Linked DNA regions of Homo sapiens: region 2 is linked to region 1. The links are contacts of gene promoters, found by promoter capture Hi-C in human tissues and cell types (Jung and others, 2019). All regions are on one chromosome and are shown on one strand. The core of a region is centred on a gene start or on the middle of the fragment in contact, and the rest is flanking DNA. Distances in the headings are between cores, read along the strand shown.

Evidence for each region. Contacts are between HindIII fragments. The study calls those that stand out against the background at their distance.
Region 2: a contact is called between a fragment that was not itself captured here and the fragment with the promoter of ANKRD53 in region 1, in 1 of the 25 tissues and cell types used here (hippocampus).

What each region holds. Positions count from the first base shown.
Region 1 is chr2:70,976,769-70,980,804 of GRCh38, forward strand. ANKRD53 (ankyrin repeat domain 53) reads left to right here and starts at 1,862. Exons shown (of 6, transcript NM_001115116.2): 1 at 1,862-2,047; 2 at 2,329-2,575; 3 at 2,893-3,092. The coding sequence starts at 1,878. The region is part of intron 1 of LOC105374795 (a long non-coding RNA gene); the gene reads right to left. RefSeq lists an enhancer at 492-761 and silencers at 1,789-1,878, 2,239-2,298. The HindIII fragment of the contact is 11,444 bases long and covers 1-4,036 here.
Region 2 is chr2:70,543,055-70,547,090 of GRCh38, forward strand. The region is part of intron 1 of TGFA (transforming growth factor alpha); the gene reads right to left. Among named protein-coding and RNA genes, the nearest start is that of TGFA, 8.8 kb to the right of the region's middle. The HindIII fragment of the contact is 3,627 bases long and covers 135-3,761 here.

The sequences.
Region 1 (4,036 bases), core at 612-3,111:
ATCCCCATTTTGCTGCTGTAGCAACTTGTAGGGACCAGCCCCACAGGGTGGGTGGGTTTTTCTCCCCGTGTGCGGAGATGAGAGATTGTAGAAATAAAGACACAAGACAAAGAGATAAAAGAAAAGACAGCTGGGCCCGGGGGACCACTACCACCAAGAGGGCAGAGATCGGTAGTGGCCCCGAATGCCTGGCTGTGCTGTTATTTATTGGATACAAGGCAAAAGGGGCAGGGTAAGGAGTGTGAGTCATCTCCAATGATTGATAAGGTCACGTGAGTCACGTGTCCACCGGACAGGGGGCCCTTCCCTGCTTGGCAGCCGAGGTGGGTGGGGGTGGGGGCGGGGACAGGGGGAGGGAGAGAGAGAGAGAGAGAGAGGACAGCTTACGCCATTATTTCTGTGTATCAGAGACTTTTAGTACTTTCACTAATTTTGCTACTGCTATCTAGAAGGCAGAGCCAGATGTACAGGATGGAACATGAAAGTGAAACAGGAGTGTGACCGCTGAAGTACAGCGTCACAGGGAGATGTTTAGGCCTCCAGATAACTGTGGGCGGGCCTGACTGATGTCAAGCCCTCCACAAAAGGTGGTGGAGTAAAGTCTTCTCTAAACTCCCCCTGGGAAAGGGAGACTCCCTTTCCCGGTCTGCTAAGTAGCGGGTGCTTTTCCTTTGCATTGATGCTACCGCTAGACCACGGTCCGCCAGACCAGGGTCCGCCAGACCACGGTCCACTTGGTAACCGGCGTCTTCCCAGACGCTGGCATTACCGCTAGATCAAGGAGCCCTCTGGTGGCCCTGTCCGGACATAACAGAAGGCTCGCACTCTTGTCTTCTGGTCACTTCTCACTATGTCCCTTTGGTTCCTATCTCTCTATGGCCTGGTTTTTCCTAGGTTATGATTATAGAGCGAGGATTATTACAATATTGGAATAAAGAGTAATTGCTACAAACTAATGATTAACGATATTCATATATAATCACGTCTATGATCTAGATCTAGATCTAGTATAACTCTTGTTGTTTTGTATATTTTATTATACTGGAACAGCTTGTGCCCTCGGTCTCTTGCCTTGGCACCTGGGTGGCTTGCCGCCCACAGAAACTAAGTCAGATAACTTGCCAAAAGCCACACTGCTGATGTGCAGCGCACCCGCTTCACTGCAGGTGGAAGTGGAAGTGAATAATAACCTTCCTGGAAGGCAGTCTGCAAGCCCATATTGACAGCTGAAAAATATTCATTCCCTTTCACCTAGTGATTCGACTCCCAGGAATCCATTCTAAGAAAACAACCAGAGTTGAGCCATTTCGTTCTTGGCAGCACATGTGAAACAATGGCACATCCATTATGACGCTGGGCTCTGGTTGCGTCATAATGTACGTTTAGTATGTGGAGTGACAATGGGCGCTAGCTCGTAATATAATGCTATTAATAAACGAAAAGAGATACAAAAAATAGTCATGATATGCATATATATTGCAATAAACCATGATTTCTGTGCGTGGTGGGATGGTAATTTTTAATTTCCACATTGAATATTTCTGTTTTCTACTTATTAGTTTGATAATCGGAAACAAAAGCCAAGTGTCTTTGTTGTTTGTGTGTTTGATGCTGAGTTTCCCGGGCAGCAGGACTGGGAGGTTGAGTGGGGGTTTTGGCTCAGACCGGGAGCAGAGCGGCGGGTGGGGAGCGGCAGGCGGGCAGGGTCCCCGGAGGCCCCCGGGCTCTGCCCCTCCAGCTAGAGAGGCAGCCGAACCCTAGCGGCCTGGAAGGGGCCGGGAAACCGCGGCCAGCTGGCAAGGAGTGGCCCCCGGGGGCGGGGCGCCGGCGGGTGTGTGAGTAGCCCGCCCGGCCCGGGTCCGAGTTCCAGCCCCGCGATGGCCTCCGCGGGCAGCACCGCTCGGCGGGCGGGCTCCGGAAGCTGGCACTCAGAAAGGGGAGAAGGGAGAGGTGCTCGGCCGCAGCCAACTCCAAGTGGCTCCATGCAGCAGGCGAACAAAGTCTCCTTGAAGGCCACCTGGACTGACGCGGAGTCCAAGCAGCCCAGGTGGGTAGCGGGAGAAGGTGTCCCGGCTGCAGGGAGCGAGAACCCGGCCCAGCGCCTCCCTGGTGGGCAGGGCCTGGAGCGGGCGGGGGCGGAGGCTGCGGCCCGAGAAGCCAGCAGAGACAGGCTGGGGCCAGGGATCGCCTCCCGAGAGGTGCCTAGGCCGTGGCCCAGAGTCGCTTCCCCACTGCCCCGCCCACCAGCCAGGCGGGGGCCAGGGATCGCCTCCCGAGAGGTGCCCGGGCCGTGGCCCAGAGTCGCTTCCCCACTGCCCCGCCCTCCAGCCAGCCCCTGCCCGACCTCGCAGACCACCTCAGTGCGCAGGCGACTGCCCTCGCCAGGCCGCGCCGCCCTGCCTCGCTCACCCCGCCCCGCGCTGACCCCAGCCCCAGCAAGGAGTCCGACCAGACGGCAATCGACCAGACGGCGATCGGGAGCTACTACCAGCTGTTCGCAGCGGCTGTGGGCAACGTGGAATGGCTGCGATTCTGTCTGAACCAGAGCCTCAGGGAAATCCCCACCGACGACAAGGTAAGGTCTTGAGTGTTGGGGCAAAGACCGAGGTCCCTCTCCCGCTACGCTGCTCGGAGTGGTCACCTGGAGAAGAGATATCCTTTTCTGGGTAGATCTTCCTAATTTAACTCATCTTCTGGCTGTGGAAGGACCATTTTGGGGGCAGGGAGGTTGGGTGGGCTGATGAACACACACTGGTTAATTAGCAAAAGGGTGTGAGCATTCCTGGGGACACAGGGAAGAAAGTGAAGGTAACCCCAATAAATTTATATAAATTGTGGACCCTGGGACCTCAGTCCCACTCAGCCTCCTCCTGCCTGCTCTGAACCTCACAGGGCTTCACTGCCATCCACTTCGCCGCCCAATGGGGCAAGCTTGCATGCCTGCAGGTCCTGGTAGAGGAGTACAAGTTTCCCGTGGACCTGCTGACCAACAATAGCCAGACACCCCTGCACCTCGTCATCCACAGGGACAACACCACCGTGGCCCTCCCCTGCATCTACTACCTGCTGGAGAAAGGCGCAGACCTCAATGCGTGAGTCCAGCCTGCTTCAGGAGGGAGGCTTCGGGCACAGGCACGGGCACAGCCCTACTTCCAGGCAGGCAAATCCATGCAGGACAAGCAGAGGGGTTGCTGGAGGTGACAAGGATTGGGTCCCACATAAAGCAGTCAGGAATCCACATGGTGTAATAAAGAGACTGGGCTTTAGCCGGGCATGGTGGCTCATGCCTATAATCCCAACACTTTGGAAGGCCGAGGCAGGCGGATCACCTGAGGTCAGGAGTTCAACACCAGCATGACCAACATGGAGAAACCCCATCTCTACTAAAAATACAAAATTAGCAGGGCATGGTGGCGCATGCCTGTAATCCCAGCTATTCGGGAGGCTGAGGCAGGAGAATTGCTTGAACCCAGGAGATGGAGGTTGCGGTGAGCTGAGATGGTGCCATTGCACTTCAGCCCGGGCAACAAGAGCGAGACTCCGTCTCAACAAAAAAAAAAAAAAAAAAAAGATTGGCCTTTAACAGACCTAGTCTACATCCCAGCTCTGCAACTTGCTAGCAGACAGCAGGACCTTAGGCAAGTCACTCAACCTCTATGCCCCAGTACTCTGGCTCCCAAACTTAGGTGTACATTGGAATTACCTAGGGAGCTTAAAAAATATGAACACCTGGCCGGGTGGCATGGTGGCATAGTCCCAGCTACTTGGGAGGCTGAGGCAGGAGAATCGCTTGAACCCGGGAGGTGGAGGTTGCGGTGGGCCGAGATTGCTCCAATGCACTCCAGCCTGGCAATAGAGCGAGACTGTCTCAAAAAATAAAAAATAAAAAAAATTAGGCTGGCCGCAGTGGCTCACGCCTGTAATCCCAGCACTTTGGGAGGCTGGGGCGAGCGGATCACGAGGTCAGGAGATCAAGAACATCCTGGCTAACATGGTAAAACCCCGTCTCTACTAAAAATACAAAAAAGTTAACCGG
Region 2 (4,036 bases), core at 698-3,197, 430 kb before region 1:
ATTGCGCCATTGCACTCCAGCCTGGGTAACAAGAGTGAAACTCCACCTAAAAAAAATAAAAAGAAAACTTAAAAATAAAAGAAGGGTTTTTTCCCTCTAAATATCATCAAGAAAAACAAACTTTAAAATATGTCTTATCTTGGGGGCCTTGATACTTACTTTATTTCACATTTGTTAAAGTCATATTACTAGGCCTGGCATGGTGGCTCATGCCCGTAATCCCAGCACTTTGGGAGGCTGAGGCAGGTGGATCTCTTGAGTCCAGGAGTTTGAGACCAGCCTGGCCAACATGGCAAAACCCCATCTCTACTAAAGAATACAAAAATTAGCTGGGCATGGTACACAGCTGTAATCCCAGCTACTTGGGAGGCTGAGGCACGAGAATTGCTTGAACTCAGGAGGCAGAGGTTGCAGTGAGCTGAGATTGCGCCACTTCACCCTAGCCTGGGCGACAGAGCGAGACTCTGTCTCAAAAAAAAAAAAAAGAAAAAAAAAGACTACATTAACTGGGGCCACAGATACAAAAAATGTTTCTTTAATTAAAAGGAGTTCATTTATAAATCTATGCTAAAATTTTAGAAATTTGAGTTGAATAGATTGTGAGGAAAATATGTAATTACCAAAACTGACTCAAAAAGTAGAAAATTTGAACTGACCACTAAAAAGGGACCAGGCCAGAAGCTTCTTAGCAATTTCTTTCAAGCCTTCACAAAATTGTTGGTTATCCTGATACTTCAACTAGCAGAACACAAAAAAGATGAGATGCTTTAAAATTTATTTTATAAAGCTGACATAATATTGATATCAAAATCTAAAAAAGAAAACAAAGCCCCAAATACTTCATAATGGAGCAGATCTAGCAGTTTATACAGAGAATAATACCACATAGCCAAGAAGAGTTTATTTCAAGAATTTAAAGGTGGCTTTAACATAATTGAGTCAATCAATGTCCTCAAAACATTTGAGGGAAAAAACCCACACATTATTGCCTCCTGCTTTAAAAAACTAACAAAACAAAAAATGCCAACTCTTTTAGTAAATTATGATGAGAAACATATTTTAACATCATAAAGAATATATGTGTATATATAATATATAACCAAAAAGTCAGCTTCGTACTTAAGTGTTAAATGCGCAAACATTACCCGTAAAGCCATGAAAAATACAAGGATATCTACTGCCTTTTAAGAAACCATGCTCTTAAAGTCCTGGTCTATGCTATAAGTAAGAAGAGATTCAAATATTAATAATTTAATATTTAATAAAAGATTAAAATAAGATATTTAATAAGAGATTAAAATATTAAAAGGAAGGAGGCAAAGTTATTATTATTCAAGCTTAAATGATCATCTACCTAGAAAACCTAAGAGGATCAACTGAAGGACTATTAGAATTAACAAAACTCGTTAAGATATAAATATGAAAAAAAAGCTTTTATATACCAGCAATAACCAATTAGAATAGATAGCAGGGGGAAATGTCTCCCACATTAGAACACAGGTCCACGAGAACTGGAACTCTGCCTCATTCTTGGCTGAATCCCTAGCATCTAGAAGTGGTCCCAGCACAGAACAGGTGCTTGGTAATTATTTGCAGAATAAATGAGTGAACACATTCACAATAAGGGCAAAAATACCAAATAATGGAACCAAACTGATATTCCATAAACAGATTCCAATACTTAAGAATTTAGCATATGAAAATAAACCAGGCACAGAAAGATAAACTTCACATGTTCTCACTTATTCATGGCAGCTGAAAATGAAAACAATTGAACTCATGGAGACAGAGTCGAATGATGGTTACCAGAGGCTAGAAAGGGTAGTGGGTGGTGTGGGAGTGGAGGTGGTTAAAGCGTACAAAAAATAGTTAGAAAGAATAAGATCTAGTATTTGATAGCAGAACAGAGGACTATAGTCAATAATAATTTAATTTTATATTTTAAAATAGCTAAAAGAGTATAATTGGATTGTTTGTATCACAAGGGATAAATGCTTGAGGTCACAGATGCTCCATTTACCTTGATGTGTTTATTACACATTGCATGCCTATATATAAAAATATCTCAGGTACCCTATAAATATATATACCTACTATGTACCCACAAGAATTAAAAATTGTAAAAATGTTGGAAGGAGACCAAGGAGATGAAGGACACGAAGGAGACGAAGGAGATGAAGAAGACAAAGAAGACGAAGATGAAGACGAAGAAAAAGAAGAAGAAGAAGAAGAGGAAGAAGAAGAAAGCATATTGTGTCTCATTTTAAACTGCTAGTAGGGCAGAACTGAGATTTGAATCCAGAGTCTGTGAGAGTCCAAGTCTTGTGCGCTTAGTTCCTATGCCACAGTATGCCCCAGATCTTATAATTTTACAAAGAACCGGTTTTAGTTGTTTTAAAAAAACAGAATTTGTCATATGATGAAAATGGAATTTCAAACCACAGGGGGAAGGGTAGATTATTCCATAAATAGCATTTTAGACTACTAACTGGTTAACTGTTTCAAAAAATGAAAATGAGTTACATCTCACAACATACCCTAGAAAAATTATAGATAAAATATTTCAACATAATATATGAGATCACTAAAGAATTACAAGAAAAAAAGTAAGAAAATATTGGCATATCTTGGAATAAGAAAAGGTTTTCCTAAATATATAAGTAAAGGTAGAACACTAATGGGGAAAGATGCATAGTTTCTGCTACATAAAAATAAAAACCTTAGGTATGTCAAAATACCATAAACAAAACAGTAAAAGATAAAAAATAAATGGGGGAAAATACTTGCAATGTATGACAGAAAAAGGATTACTATTCTTCTCATATAAAGTGTTATTATAAAACTCCAAGAAAAGGATGATCAATCAATAAGAAAAAAATTTTTAAAGGTTAAGATGCAAGTAGCAAAATGACAAATGTCCAACAAATTTACTGACTCTAACAAATACTACATATGAAAACTGGGCTGAGATCATTTTTCTCCAATCAACTTGGCAAATGTTAAATCTAACTTACAGTGTTATGGAAGATCAAGAAAGTGAGAGAAAAGGCCAATTTCTAGAAATTTATTCTAAATATTACAGGATGTGCCAAACATTTCTGTACAAGAATGCCTGTTGTATTACTTCTTTGACTTTAGGCACTATAGATTTAATATATGCTTCTTATAAAAAATTAACCAATTCAGAGCAAGACACTGGAACCTGCCCTTTTAAATTTAGTGTATTGCAAAAACCCTTCATTACTTTTTTTTATTTTTAATGTCAACTTTTATTTTTAGATTCAGGGGTACATGTGCAGGTTTGTTACATGGGTATATCGTGTAATTCTGTGATTTGGGGTACAATTCATTGTTACCCAGATAGTAAGAATGGTGCCCAATAGACAGTTTTTCAACACTTGCTCCCTCTCTCCATCCCAATGAAAAACCTTATTATTATTATTTTTGTTTTGAGACAGGGCCAGGCTGGAGTGCAGTGGCTCAATCATGACTCACTGCAACCTCGACCTCCCAGGCTCCAGTGATCCACCAGCCTCAGCCTCCCAAGTAGCTGGGACTACAGGCATGCACTACCACACCCCGCTAATTTTTCTTTTTTCTTTTTTTTTTGAAGAGATTGTGGGGAGTATCTCACTGGGAGCTGCAGACAAAGCTGTTCCTATCTGGCCATCTTTGATCCAGCCATGGTGGGAGTCTCACTATGTTGCCCAGGCTGGTCTTGAACTCCTGGGCTCAAGTGATCTGCCTGCCTCAACCTCCCAAAGGGCTGGGATTACAGGTGTGAGCCACCTTGCTTGGCCAGAAAACCTTTTAATAGCTAAATCTTTTAAATAGCTACACAGTAAATCATTGTACTGACATAGAAAAATAAAGGATTTAAGAAATCTCCTTAAATAATTATAGCAGTGTGGTACTAGCAACTTGTTCTTACAAACAATTCAATAGTCACCATCTTCTACATTTTTCTTTGCACATTTCAACATGTATTTATGTAGGATATATCAAAAAGTGAAATTGATGACTCAGAAGTTATGCC